4 separate regions of the Homo sapiens genome follow, and all the other regions are linked to region 4. Evidence: promoter capture Hi-C in 16 types of primary human blood cells and fetal thymus (Javierre and others, 2016). All regions are on one chromosome and are shown on one strand. Each heading gives the region's core, a stretch centred on a gene start or on the middle of the fragment in contact. The rest is flanking DNA. Distances are from core to core; before and after follow the strand shown.

The links. Contacts are between HindIII fragments. The CHiCAGO score rates a contact against its expected background, and 5 or more counts as called.
Region 1: a fragment that was not itself captured here is called in contact with the fragment with the promoter of ERICH6-AS1 in region 4 in 2 of 17 cell types (erythroblasts and megakaryocytes); the score reaches 6.2 in erythroblasts.
Region 2: a fragment that was not itself captured here is called in contact with the fragment with the promoter of ERICH6-AS1 in region 4 in 2 of 17 cell types (erythroblasts and megakaryocytes); the score reaches 6.7 in erythroblasts.
Region 3: a contact is called between a fragment that was not itself captured here and the fragment with the promoter of ERICH6-AS1 in region 4, in 9 of 17 cell types (activated CD4 T cells, fetal thymus, erythroblasts and 6 more). The highest score is 8.8, in activated CD4 T cells.

The regions. Positions count from the first base shown.
Region 1 is chr3:150,560,029-150,563,346 of GRCh38, reverse strand. It overlaps EIF2A (eukaryotic translation initiation factor 2A), which reads right to left. Exons shown (of 14, transcript NM_032025.5): 4 at 687-805. Among named protein-coding and RNA genes, the nearest start is that of EIF2A, 15 kb to the right of the region's middle. The HindIII fragment of the contact is 2,605 bases long and covers 1-2,553 here.
Region 2 is chr3:150,847,554-150,850,556 of GRCh38, reverse strand. No RefSeq gene overlaps it. Among named protein-coding and RNA genes, the nearest start is that of MINDY4B, 56 kb to the left of the region's middle. RefSeq lists an enhancer at 1,183-1,684. The HindIII fragment of the contact is 1,853 bases long and covers 514-2,366 here.
Region 3 is chr3:150,867,005-150,870,268 of GRCh38, reverse strand. No RefSeq gene overlaps it. Among named protein-coding and RNA genes, the nearest start is that of MINDY4B, 37 kb to the left of the region's middle. The HindIII fragment of the contact is 8,369 bases long and covers 1-3,264 here.
Region 4 is chr3:150,702,302-150,705,151 of GRCh38, reverse strand. ERICH6-AS1 (ERICH6 antisense RNA 1) reads right to left here and starts at 1,588. Exons shown (of 3, transcript NR_121675.1): 1 at 1,485-1,588. It overlaps ERICH6 (glutamate rich 6), which reads left to right and starts at 1,232. Exons shown (of 14, transcript NM_152394.5): 1 at 1,232-1,656. The coding sequence starts at 1,254. RefSeq lists enhancers at 1,037-1,126, 1,277-1,356. The HindIII fragment of the contact is 4,487 bases long and covers 1-2,850 here.

The DNA.
Region 1 (3,318 bases), core at 2-2,501, 140 kb after region 4:
CACTCATGATTCTCAACTGATTCTCAGTATCTCTTTCATTTACTTGGAAAAATTAGATTCATGAGAGTTCATACCTCTTGAAAGAACAAAAACTCAGGAGGTTTGTAAGCCAATAATGACCTATTATCATTTACTTATTCAAAAATATCAACATTATTAGAAAATGTTTCTTAAAATAAGCCCCTATAACTATTTTATTACATGAAACACAGTTATATGAAATGTTCATATAATGTATTATCATTAAGTATCTCTTTAAATATTTTGGAAAATGGCACAACATTTTCGACTCTACCATACACATCCCTTAGATGTTTTGTCTACTGTACTTCCTTTCACATAATAATTATTTAAAAGTCTTGATTTTAAAAGTCATTATTATTCTTAATCTTCAGAAATCTCTATCCAGCAGTTATTTACTTCCTGAATTTTCCCTTGAGCTTTTTCTTTTCCTTTAGCTCATAATGGCTCTTTACATTAACTTACCATATACCTTGAAATTACTTTCAATACATTGTTTATTTGGAGAGTACAAGATTCACTGTAGATCATAAATATTCACAAACACTATTTACTATCATAAAGACTAATTACTTTCTTATGAGGTTATAAACTTTATAACTTTTTCCCCCCCACTAAACGTAATTGATCGTGTCAGAGTATTTTTACACTGAGAAAATACTTACTAGTGTAAGGCTGCCACGTTGCCAGGACAGTATTTTTGGGTGAGAATTCAAGGCAAACTGCCTTCAGGAGGTCGAAGGAGTGCAGTAGTCCCTTGTTAGTGACACTGATAATATTTACTCTGGTTTCAAAAGAAATTATTTCAGCAATGAAATACTGTTTTATAGTAGTCAACACTAACCAAAACATTCATACCTCTTTTCAAATACAGATCACTCCAAAATGTTGACTTTTTTTTTTTTTGAGATGGAGTCTCGCTGTCTCCCAGGTTGGAGTGCAGTGGCGCAATCTCGGCTCACTGCAAGCTCCACCTCCCCGGTTCATGCCATTCTCCTGCCTCAGCCTCCCAAGTAGCTGGGACTACAGGTGCCCGCCACCACGCCCGGCTAATTTTTTGTATTTTTAGTAGAGATGGGGTTTCACCGTGTTAGCCAGGATGGTCTTGATCTCCTGACCTCGTGATCCGCCCGCCTTGGCCTCCCAAAGTGCTGGGATTACAGGCGTGAGCCACCATGCCCAGCCCAAAATGTTCATTTTTCATAAAAATCAACTTTAAGTTGGTTCTAGAAAATATGCGGGAAATACCTTAACTTCAAAAAAAAAGGGCCAGGTGCAGTCGCTCACACCTGTAATCCCAGCACTTTGGGAGGTCGAGGTGGGTGGATCACCTGAGGTCGGGAGTTCGAGACCAGCCTGGCCAACATGGAGAACCTCTGTCTCTACTAACACTACAAAAATTAGCCGGGCGTGGCAGTGGGCACCTGTAATCCCAGCTACTCGGGAGGCAGAGGCTGCAGTGGGCTGAGATCGTGCCACTGCACTCCAGGCTGGGTGACAGAGTGAGACTCCATCTCAAAAAAAAAAAAATGTATATTTTACCAAAAGGCTCCTATATAAGGCTAGTGCTGGGAAATGATATAAAATAGAAGACACATGGATGATTCCACCTTCAGCTGAAAAGGAAAAAAATGCCTTTAAGTGAACACAAAACTAATCTATAGAGAAGCTGAGGTCTATCAAACCAAAGGAAAGGCAGAGGTGCTAGAGAAAATGGCAAAAGTATACTTTTGTTTTATTTTTTATTTGAGATGGAGTCTCACTCTGTCACCCAGGCTGGAGTGTAGTGGCACAGTCTTGGCTCACAGCAACCTCCACCTCCTGGGTTTAAGTGATTCTCCTGCCTAAGCCTCCCGAGTAGCTGGGACTACAGGCGCATGCCACCACGCCTGGCTAATTTTTGTATTTTTGGTAGAGACGGGGTTTCACCATGTTGGCCAGGCTGGCCTTGAACTCCTGACCTCAGGTGATCCACCCACCCTGGCCTTCCAAAGTGCTGGGATTACAGGTATGAGCCACCGTGTCCGGCCCGCAAAAGTATACTTTTAAATTTGAATAAATGGGCCAGGTGCAGTGGCTCACACCTGTAATCCCAGCATGTTGGGAGGCTGAGGTGGGAGGACTGCTTGAGCCCAGGAGTTCAAAACCAGCCCGGGCAACATAGCAAGATCCCATCTCAATTAAAAAAAAAATTTTTTTTAAATAAATAGAAGCTATAGCAGCTAGGGAAATCAGTAAGGAGACATTTGATGTCTACTACAATCTCAAGAGCAATCTCTAAAAGATATGATTCTAAGAATTATTATGGTACAATGACAAAAATGACAATAATTGTATGATAAAAGCAGTTCCATTTTGGGATGTTTTCTATGTACCTAACCACTTTATGTACATTTTCTCATTTAATCCTTACAACAATCTTACAAATGTCATCATTTCTGTTTTACAAGTGCTGAAATTTAGGCTTAGAAAAATAAAATGATTTGACGATTTGCTCAAGATCATACTATTGATAAATGCCACAGCCAAGCTTTGAAATCAGTTTGGCCTGACTTACTGTTATGTACTAAACACTCTGGGGTGTTTAACAAAAAAAAAAAAAAAAAAAAGACTCTCCATCTTATTCCAGAAGTTGCTGTAAGTAACTTTGTTCTACTCAGGTTTGAGGAAGATAACTGAGGTTAAGATAAGCAGTCACTGAAAAGAATGAAAAATTACCACATAGTATTTAAACACACACACCTAACATGGAAATCTTTACAACTTGCTGCAAATAACCTATTTTAGAATTACAAGACGCTTTCTTGTTTTCTTCTTGTTGCTGTTGTTAACCTTTATTTTTTTCTTTGCTTTGCAACTGGAGCCTACTCAGAATTGATGGTCTTTAAGAGTTATTCTTAGTTTAATGAAGGATGTTTATTTTAATTAAGAAAAAACATATTTAAGGAAGAATCAGTAACGGTTTCTGACTTAGTTAACCAGAAACTGAACAAAGACCACAATCAATACATGAAATCTAGTTCTCTTGCCCCAGAACAATAAGTACCATTGTGGTCACAGCACTTTAATGAAATAAATGCTAGAACTTAATATAGAAGATATCTATTAAAATCATGGACATGACATATGGGGACATACTAAAAAGATTCAGAGTTGAATCCCATAGAAGGTTAAGTGTGGATATGAGTGAACTATTAACAATAACTGCCAAGGTAAAAACAGACTTATTCAACAAACTCTAAGCTAGAAGAACAAGGAATACTTCAAAAACAAACAAACAAAAAAAGACAATGAAAA
Region 2 (3,003 bases), core at 191-2,690, 150 kb before region 4:
AAAGAAAAGAGGTTTAACTGACTCACAGTTCCGCGGGGCTGGGGGAGCCTCAAAAAAACTTACAATCATGGCAGAAGAGGAAGCAAACATGTCCTTCTTTCCATAGCAGCAGCAAGGAGAAGTGCAAAGTGAATGGGGGAAAGCCCCTTGGAAAATCATCAGATCTCATAATAACAAACTCACTATCATGAGAAAAGCATGGGGGAAACACCCCCATGATCTAATCACCTCCCAGAAGGTCCCTCTCCCAACATGTGGGGATTACAATTTGGATTACAAGTCAAGATGAGATTTGGGTGGGGACACAGAGCCAGACCATATTGGGCCACAGTGGGAAAGTTTTAATTTGGATACAGTTGTTTATTTGCAAGAGACATTAGAAAAGAAGGAATCAAAAACTGTGTAAAAACAAGGAGATACATTTTTTAACCAGTATGCAGAGGCATCTAAAAGATTAAATAAATCAACATTTGCTTCCCTAAAAAAATTTGCAAAAGGCATATATACAAAGCTTAAACAACAACTAAGAATGTAACGAAAAAGGACGATACCCTCATTGAACTAACCCTTGCTGCTTTTTCTCTCCATCTATCTTTACTTCAATACTCTGAGTCCATTAACCTTCTTGTTCAATTACCGTTTCATTCTGGGGATAATAGAAAAAGGGGAAGTTAGTAGAGAATAGACTTTTCTTGCAAGTTCCACGTGCTGTGGAAAGCCCATTAAATTTTAGTCAAACTTAACATCTGTCAGTAAGTAGACTAACATCTTATTAAATTCTTTTGTCTTCTTCCAAACCCCACCTAAAACACTGCAGTCTGGGCATGATGGTTCACACCTGTAATCCCAATGTGTTGGGAGGCTAAGGTGGGAGTTCGAGACCAGCCTGAGCAACATAGCAAGATGCTGTCTCTACCAAAAAAAAAAAAATAATTAGCAGGCATGATGGCACATGCCTGTAGTCCAAGCTATTCGGAAGGCTAAGGTGGGAGGATCACTTGAGCCACGGAGTTCAAGACTGCAGTGAGTATGATCATGCCATTGCACTCCAGCCTGGGTGAGTGAGACCCTATCTTAAAAATAAAATAAATAAAACACTGCAACTTACTTAACCTTGAGACTCCACTACTTCTACTGTCTGACAGTGAAGACTATAACTATGTACATGTAATATTAGAATCAGTGGCCCCTCGTGTTGATTTACAAGATACTCCACTGGATAATCCTGAATAAATACTTTCTGTGGATGGGCCTTATTCCAAATACTCAGAAGGAAAATATCAGGCAGGGAATGCTGTTACAACCCAAACTGTATAGCAAGCCTTACCTGTTTAAGGTGTTTATTCTTGGCCATTATGTCTTAACTGGGCCTTTATCTATATCCTCCTTCCTTGATTTGGGCAAATAATGGTATTTAGACCTAAAGTCTCAGCTCTGTGCTTTTGAGATGGAAATTTTCTACCTTATTTACTAAGCCATTCCTTTGGAAATGCAAATTTGGGTTAAAACTTTTTAATAGTTGCCCCAGCACAGTGGCTGATGTCTGGAATCCCAGCACTTTGGGAGGCCAGGGCAGATGGATTGTTTGAACCCAGGAGTTCAAGACCAGCCTGGGCAACATAGCAAGACCTTGTCTCTATTTTTAAAATAATTAATTTAAAAAAATTTTAATAGTTATTAAAAACGGGGTAAGTAAAGCAAATAGTGATGGGGTTAAAACAAAAGGTAAATCTACCAAAGATTAGACAAAACAGAGGAACACCTGCCGGTCTGCCAACATTACAAGATCCCAAATCAATTCACTCTTTTTACCCCAGTTTGGAGAAATTTTTTAAAGTCAGAAGGCAGAAATTACAATGAACAACCTAGCTAACAATTACTTAGGGTAATGATCAAACAGGTCAGTAAAGAAAAGGCCAAAGGTCCCTTGATATAACCCCCTGATGGAATGGGATAAAAGTTGTTTAGGTGAACCTGTCATAGTTTCAAAATTCTTTTTCAGTGAAGTCTTAAAGTCATAATAAATTAAGAGAGATTCATAAAATGTCTGGGTTATTTCTAAGTAGGTTAAAATGCTAAAACTTTAATTTTTAAGCAAAAGTTTAATTTTACAAACTTTGGCATGTTTTTATACAGTCTAGAGAAGCTAATATGTGGGTCTGTTAATAAACAAAAATTGTGTTTTGAGAAAATGTTTCTAAAAATTATTTTAAATGCTGATACAAAACAGTTCAAAATTGCTCACTTCCTAGGTTTTCACTAGAAATTGGGGTTACTAATACTTAAAAAGTCGAATTAATATATGGCAATTAAAATTAGAAATAAGAGAAACAAAAAAAGTAAGACATGTTTTTGTAAGTGAAGCTTAGATGAAAAGTATGTTTTTGTTTTTTTAAAAAAAGTAATTTTTTCCTAAAGTAGAATGATTGATTGTCCCAAAATAAGAAAGAAGAAAACTATAGGACAAATGACTTAAAGGATATAAAATGTAGAAAGTTTATGAATCTTAGGAAATAAATTTTATGTGTGATCAGGGTGGCTAAAATTAGAAGGGAATTATAAGTTTTTTTTTAAAAATGGAGCATTAATATCAAAAGTACACTGATGCAAAAGTAGAATCTGGTCCTCTCCATTGAAACAGGATTTCCTTGGAGTAAGCCTCTTCTTTTAATAGGAAGTTGTAAAAGGTATTTTAGATAATTGGCCTGTGAAACAAAAGTAGGGTGTTTTATTAAAATAATTTCCTGTTCTTCATGTTGTCTTCTATTAGATCTTTGATTACTTAAGAAAATTGAGTCTTCTCAATATTAAAAGAGCTAAGTTTTTTGTCCAAAATGATGTAAACTTCTATATTTGCCTTTAAAATCTTTGATGGCCACTTTGCAGATTTTTAGGTTAAGTCAGCCAGTACTGAAATTGCTGACATCAGCAATTTGAATGAACTTTGTAAGGTTAATCCAATTCAACTTATATATGATAATCTATCTAATAAACAGGGCTATG
Region 3 (3,264 bases), core at 1-2,500, 170 kb before region 4:
TTTCCCTGTCCTGTTAAATGCCTATGTTCTTTCTGAAGAGATACACAGAGTAAACACATATTCCTTCTAAAAGAAGTACACGAGAATAATGTAGACACCGCCAGCCACCCCGCTAATCTGCCACCTCACAGACTTAGGGCACTGTATTCACAATCCCAAGGTTAGTTTCCAAAGAACAATCTTTCTGCATTCATTCAAATTCATTTATTAAATGCATTTGCATTTGGCTCAAAGAATAATGTTTTAACTTAAGGACCATGTAGGAAATGAAACTTCAAGGTGAATAATAAATTATGTCAGAAGAGAAAGGCAATTAGGCTTGAATTGCGGATTATAGTATCTTTATCATTGGTGTTTTCACTGGGGATTTTAAATACACTGGACAAATAAGTGGATCCCTACAGACTTTGGGCTTATGTGGTCTTAATCTTACTTACATTGTGCTTTTCCTGAGGTGCGGGCCTGTTTTTTGTTTTATGGACACTACATTGTTTCTTACTGAATGTCTCTTTTGGAGTTGACTGCTTAGAGCTGAATTAAAAAACACACCAGTGCATTAGTAAGGAACTGCTCAGCTGCAAGTAAGAGATCTCACGAAAAGTCGCAAACAATAAAGATATTCCTTTTAACAAGAGCTGTCTAGCTAGGGGATCCATGACTCAGATCATCATGGTTCATCCTCTGAGTCTGAGAACAGGGCACTTGATATTAGAACAAAATCAGGGTTTTGTAGAAGGAAGAAAAGCAGGATGACTGTCGGGTAGTGTATCGGTCCTTACAAAAGCCAACTTTTAAATTGACCTCATTCTTGTATCCATTTTATGTTCCTTCCCTTATTCCTCCTTTGAATTTTTAATTTGTTTATAATTTATGTTAGTTTGCCATATTTTATATGGTATTGTAATTTGGGTTAAATTATTCCTGGAACAAGTCTATAAATAAGTAAAATAATGGAGGAAAGATTAAGTACCTACGTTTTAGATGTAAAAGTATAATTTTGATATATAAAACTATTAATTACTTTGTATATCAATGTTCAGTGAAAATAAGTTATTTTATCTTATAAACAGGGTACCCGGTAATACTTGATTTTTTTCTTCAGAGTGGAGACATGTTATTTAAAAATAACTGGAAGTGGCTGGGCGCGGTGGCTCACGCCTGTAATCCCAGCACTTTGGAAGGCCGAGGTGGGCGGATCACGAGGTCAGGAGATCGAGACCATCCTGGCTAACACGGTGAAACCCCATCTCTACTAAAAATACAAAAAATTAGCCAGGCGAGGTGGCGGGCACCTGTAGTCCCAGTTACTCAAAAGGCTGAGGCAGGAGAATGGCGTGAACCCAGGAGGCGGAGCCTGCAGTGAGCCGAGATCACGCCACTGCACTCCAACCTGGGCGACAGCGAGACTCCGTCTCAAAAAAAATAAAATAAAATAAAATAAAAAAATAAAAATAACTGGAAGTTTCTCAGAGCCATTAGTTCACTTTTAAACTTTGTTTTGAGAAAAATGACTTTTTTTTCAGCTTCTCAAATACAAAGCAGAAGAAAGCTGTTTGCTTGAAGACGGGGATATTAATTTTTCTGACTAGTCATCTAAACTGACTGTGTCTTTAGTGGGAATGAACCCTTGAGGCGATGGCAACTATTTTCCTCTTTCAAATATCAACTTAGACTGGAACATTCCCCCGAATTATTGTTTGCTCTTAGACAAGATGTGTGAATCATTTTTCCAAGAACATTCTCACCAATGTCACAAGACCCGTAGGAGCAGGCCAGGTTGGGGGAGGCCTAAGATTCCCTTCACTTCACACTGTGGAAATAACCCTGAATAGCAACTGGCTGAGACTGGACCTGAGCTGTCCAGGCTGTGGGCACTCTTCAGCCACACCTGGGCCTGCATTTTCTGTTAATGGTTGTAATTCCCTTGTCAGGGCCTTAGAGACATAATCATTCATTCATTCATTCATTCAATGTTTTTTATTTTATTTTTATTTTTATTTTTGAGATGGAGTCTCACTCTGTCGCCCAGGCTGGAGTGCACTGGTGTGACCTTGGCTCACTGTAACCTCCACCTCCCGGGTTCAAGCGATTCTTGTGCCTCAGCCTCCCAAGTAGCTGGGACTACAGGTGCACACAACCACTCTGGCTAATTTGTTTGTATTTTTTGGTAGAAATTGGGTTTCACCATGTTGGCCAGGCTGGTCTTTAACTCATGACCTCAAGTGATCTGCCCGCTTGGCCTCCCGAAGTGCTGGGATTCAGGCATGAGCTACCATGCCTGGCCATTCAATGTTTTTTAACATGCCCTATGTGCCAGGCACTATGCTTGATGCTGGGGAAAATCAGCACAGCGAGCAAAATCAGATGTGGCACACCCTCTTTTCTTATGAAACTTAGGCTCTTCTGAGGAGATGGCAATTAATCAAAAAGCACTTTAATAAAGATAAACTTGAAAACTAAGGGAAGAGATTTTGGGTGCGTCAATCTTATAATAAAGAACTGAAAGAAAAGGAAAAGGCATGTCTGAGGAAGAGATGGTTAGCTGAAGTAAGAAGGCTGCATAGAGATAACAGGGTAAGGGGAAGAAGGGCAAGCAGATGTGAAGCCCTGTGGTGAATGCGCCTGAGGAACAGAAAAGCCTGTGGGGCTAAAGAGTGGTTGTGAAGCAGCTGGAGCAAAAGGTGGGGCCACCGCAAGGCAGTGTAGACTATAAGGTGTGAGAAACCTTGGAAAGGTTTTAAGTGGCCTGGTAAGATTTGCATTTTGAACACATGCCTCAGAGTAGAACATGGATTGGAGAGAGCCCCAAGTGCATGCAGAGACCAGTTAGGCATGCGGAGACTAGTTAGTTAGGCAGTGGTGTGGACAAGAGATGGTCAGAACAGAATGGAGGCAATTAAAGTAGACTGAAGTGGGCCTCTCAGGAGACACCTCTTGGTAGGTAAAATGGAGAAGGCTGAAATAGGTTGCATGGGGAGGGAGATGAGGAAGAAAGAAAGAAGGATCAAGGATGACTTCTAGGTTTCTGATTTGATAACTGGATGGAAGGTTGTACCTTCACAGAACTTGGAAACACTCAAAACATACCAGATTTTGAGGGCAAGAAATCACACATCTAGTCTTAGACATGAAACATTCAAGTGGAAAGGTAGATTAATGGATCAGAAATAAGGATCTGGAAATCAATGGAGAGGTTTGGACCAGAGAAATAAATACACCTGGGAGTCACTAAGGGTAAGTAACATGGTGGCCTGGGGTAAGACT
Region 4 (2,850 bases), core at 339-2,838:
GGCCAGGCACTGTGGCTCACGCCTGTAATCCCAGCACTTTGGGAGGCTGAGGCAGGCAGATCACGAGGTCAGGAGATCGAGACCATCCTGGCTAACACGGTGAAACCCCATCTCTACTGAAAATGCAAAAAATTAGCCAGGCGTGGTGGCACGTGCCTGTAGTCCCAGCTACTCGGGAGGCTGAGGCAGGAGAATTGCTTGAACCCAGGAGGCTGAGGTTGCAGGGAGCCGATATGGTGCCACTGCACTCCAGCCTGGGTGACAGAGCGAGACTCCGTCTCAAAATAAATATAATATAATATAATATAATATAATATAATATAATATAATATAATATAATATATAAAATTGGCCAGGCGTGGTGACACACATTTGTTGTCCTTGCCACTTGGGAGACCGAGGTGGGAGGATCACTGGAGCCCAAGAGTTCAGGGCTGAAGTGAACCATGATGCCGCCACTGCACTCCAGCCTGGGTGACAGAGTGACATCCTGTCTCTCAAAAATAAAAAATGTATATATTTTACAAAAATGTAAGTAAATACAAAGTCCCAGAAGGACGCAGGTGGTACCTAGGTGGCCAGATGCTTCAGGACTTTTCTACTCCAGGATGGATAGATGGGCCAAGTAAGAAGCAGGACCCAGATCACAGCAAGGAGCAAAATTTATGGGACGCTAAAAATGTCGCCAATCAAGATTAATTAATATTAATCTAACAATATTTAAGATAACTAACATTTAAGGCAATTTTAATACGCTTATTAATATTTAAAGCTATTTTAAAAATATCCGCAAACGAGGGCCCAAGGGCTGGCGCCTGATTTTGTAAATAAAGTTTCACTGGACGTTCCAGCAAGCATCTGTCTACTCAATAACCAGACTCCAGCATCCGCAATACCAAATGGCACCGTGTGTGTCCGTCGCTAGAAGCCACTTCCTCCACCCAAGTTAAAAAAAAAAAAAAAGGCCCCAAATAAGCTGAGAGACGAAGAAAAGATCGTTTCTCCGCAGGCTGCCAGGGGTTTCAGAGACGCTGAAGAGCAGGGACAGAAAGAAGTCTGCGGTGGCCCCCACCGGCCCTCGGCACCCACATTCTATCCGGCTAACCAGCTCCTGCCGCTTTAAATCCGGGAGGCTCGGTGGCGCAGGGCAAGCAGTTGCCCGGGGAGACCAACGCACAACAGAGGCTCGCGCTCGCGAGAGCCGACCGGGGCCGCGGCCAAAGAGCTGGCTGTAATCCCGCCTCCCGCCAGCCATGGCCCACTTGCGCTCGCCTAGCGGCTTCGGAGACCCGGGGAAGAAGGACCAGAAGGAGTCAGAGGAGGAGTTAGAGGAGGAGGAGGAGGAGGAAGAGGTGGAGGAGGAGGAGGAAGAGGTGGAGGAGGAGGAGGAAGAGGTGGAGGAGGAGGAGGAGGAGGTGGTGGAGGAGGAGTTGGTGGGGGAAGAGCAGGAGTTGGAGGCCCCTGAGACGTTCAGCGAAGAGTACCTCTGGAAGGTCACGGACATCGGTGACTACGACGACGACTTCCCAGACGTGCGCCCCCGCTTAGCCAGCATCGTCAGCCCTAGCCTGACCTCTACGTTCGTGCCCAGCCAGAGCGCGACCAGCACTGAAACGCCGAGCGCAAGCCCACCCTCCAGCACCTCCTCGCATAAAAGTACCGCCCCCGACCCACCCCTTCCTCGAGGGTTTCTCGTCTCCAGGGGGCACCTGGTCCACCCACTCCTGGGTGGTGCCTTCGTCGACCTGCGCGTCGTGCCTGATTTCTAAATGCATGCACCATTCCACACACCTAATCTCTCTCACGCCCTTGTCAGAGACACTGAACCCTTGGCTGAGCTGTTGTGATGAGGCACGATTTAGGATATAGGCGAAACACCATAAAAGTTGAACTTGGGCATGGCTGTATGAAGTGCTTTTTTTTTTTTAGACAAGAGTCTCGCTCTGTCGCCCAGGCTGGAGTGCAGTGGCTGCAGCCTCGACCTCCTGGGCTCAAGCCTCCCACCGCAGCCTCTCGAGTAACTGGAACTACAGGCACACGCCACCACACCCAGCTAATCTGGCGTCTCACTATGTTGCCCAGGCTGCTGGGAGTGCTCATTTTTATAACATTTTTGCGTGCATTCACACCGTGACATCTCTCTCTCTCTCTCTCTCTGTTCCCCCTCCCCTCCCTCTTCCTCCCCTCCCTCTCCCCTCCCCCTCTCTTTCTCTCTCCCTCTCTCTCTCTCTCACAGACACACACACACACACACACACACACTCATATTATTTCCAGAGAAGTGCCTTAAGGGTGCTGTACTACTGAAACAGTCCTGCAAAAAAAAAAAACAACTCTCTTTTGTGTTTAACATCCTGTGCTGAAGCCACTCCAGTCACTTCCTTGAAAAAAGAAGCAGAGAAGTCTTCTAGAGTAGGCTTCTCAAGCTCTAGTGTTGACATTTTGGTCTGGATAATTCTTTGTTGGGGAGGATTGGGGACTGTCCTGTGAATTACAGGATATTTGGCAGCATCCCTGTCCTCTACCCGTGGCTGTGCTAGAAGCACACATCCTTGCGATGATCAAAAATGTCTCCAGGCCGGGCGCGGTGGCTCACGCCTGTGATCCCAGCACTTTGGGAGGCCTAGGCGGGCAGATCACGAGGTCGGGAGATCGAGACCATTCTGGCTAACATGGTGAAACCCCGTCTCTACTAAAAATACAAAAAATTAGCCGGGCGTGGCGGCGTGCGCCTGTAGTCCCAGCTACTTGGGAGGCTGAGGCAGGAGAATAGCGTGAACCCGGGAGGTGGAGCTTGCAGTGAGCCAAGATCGCGCCATTGCACTCCAGCCTAGGCGACAGAGCGAGACT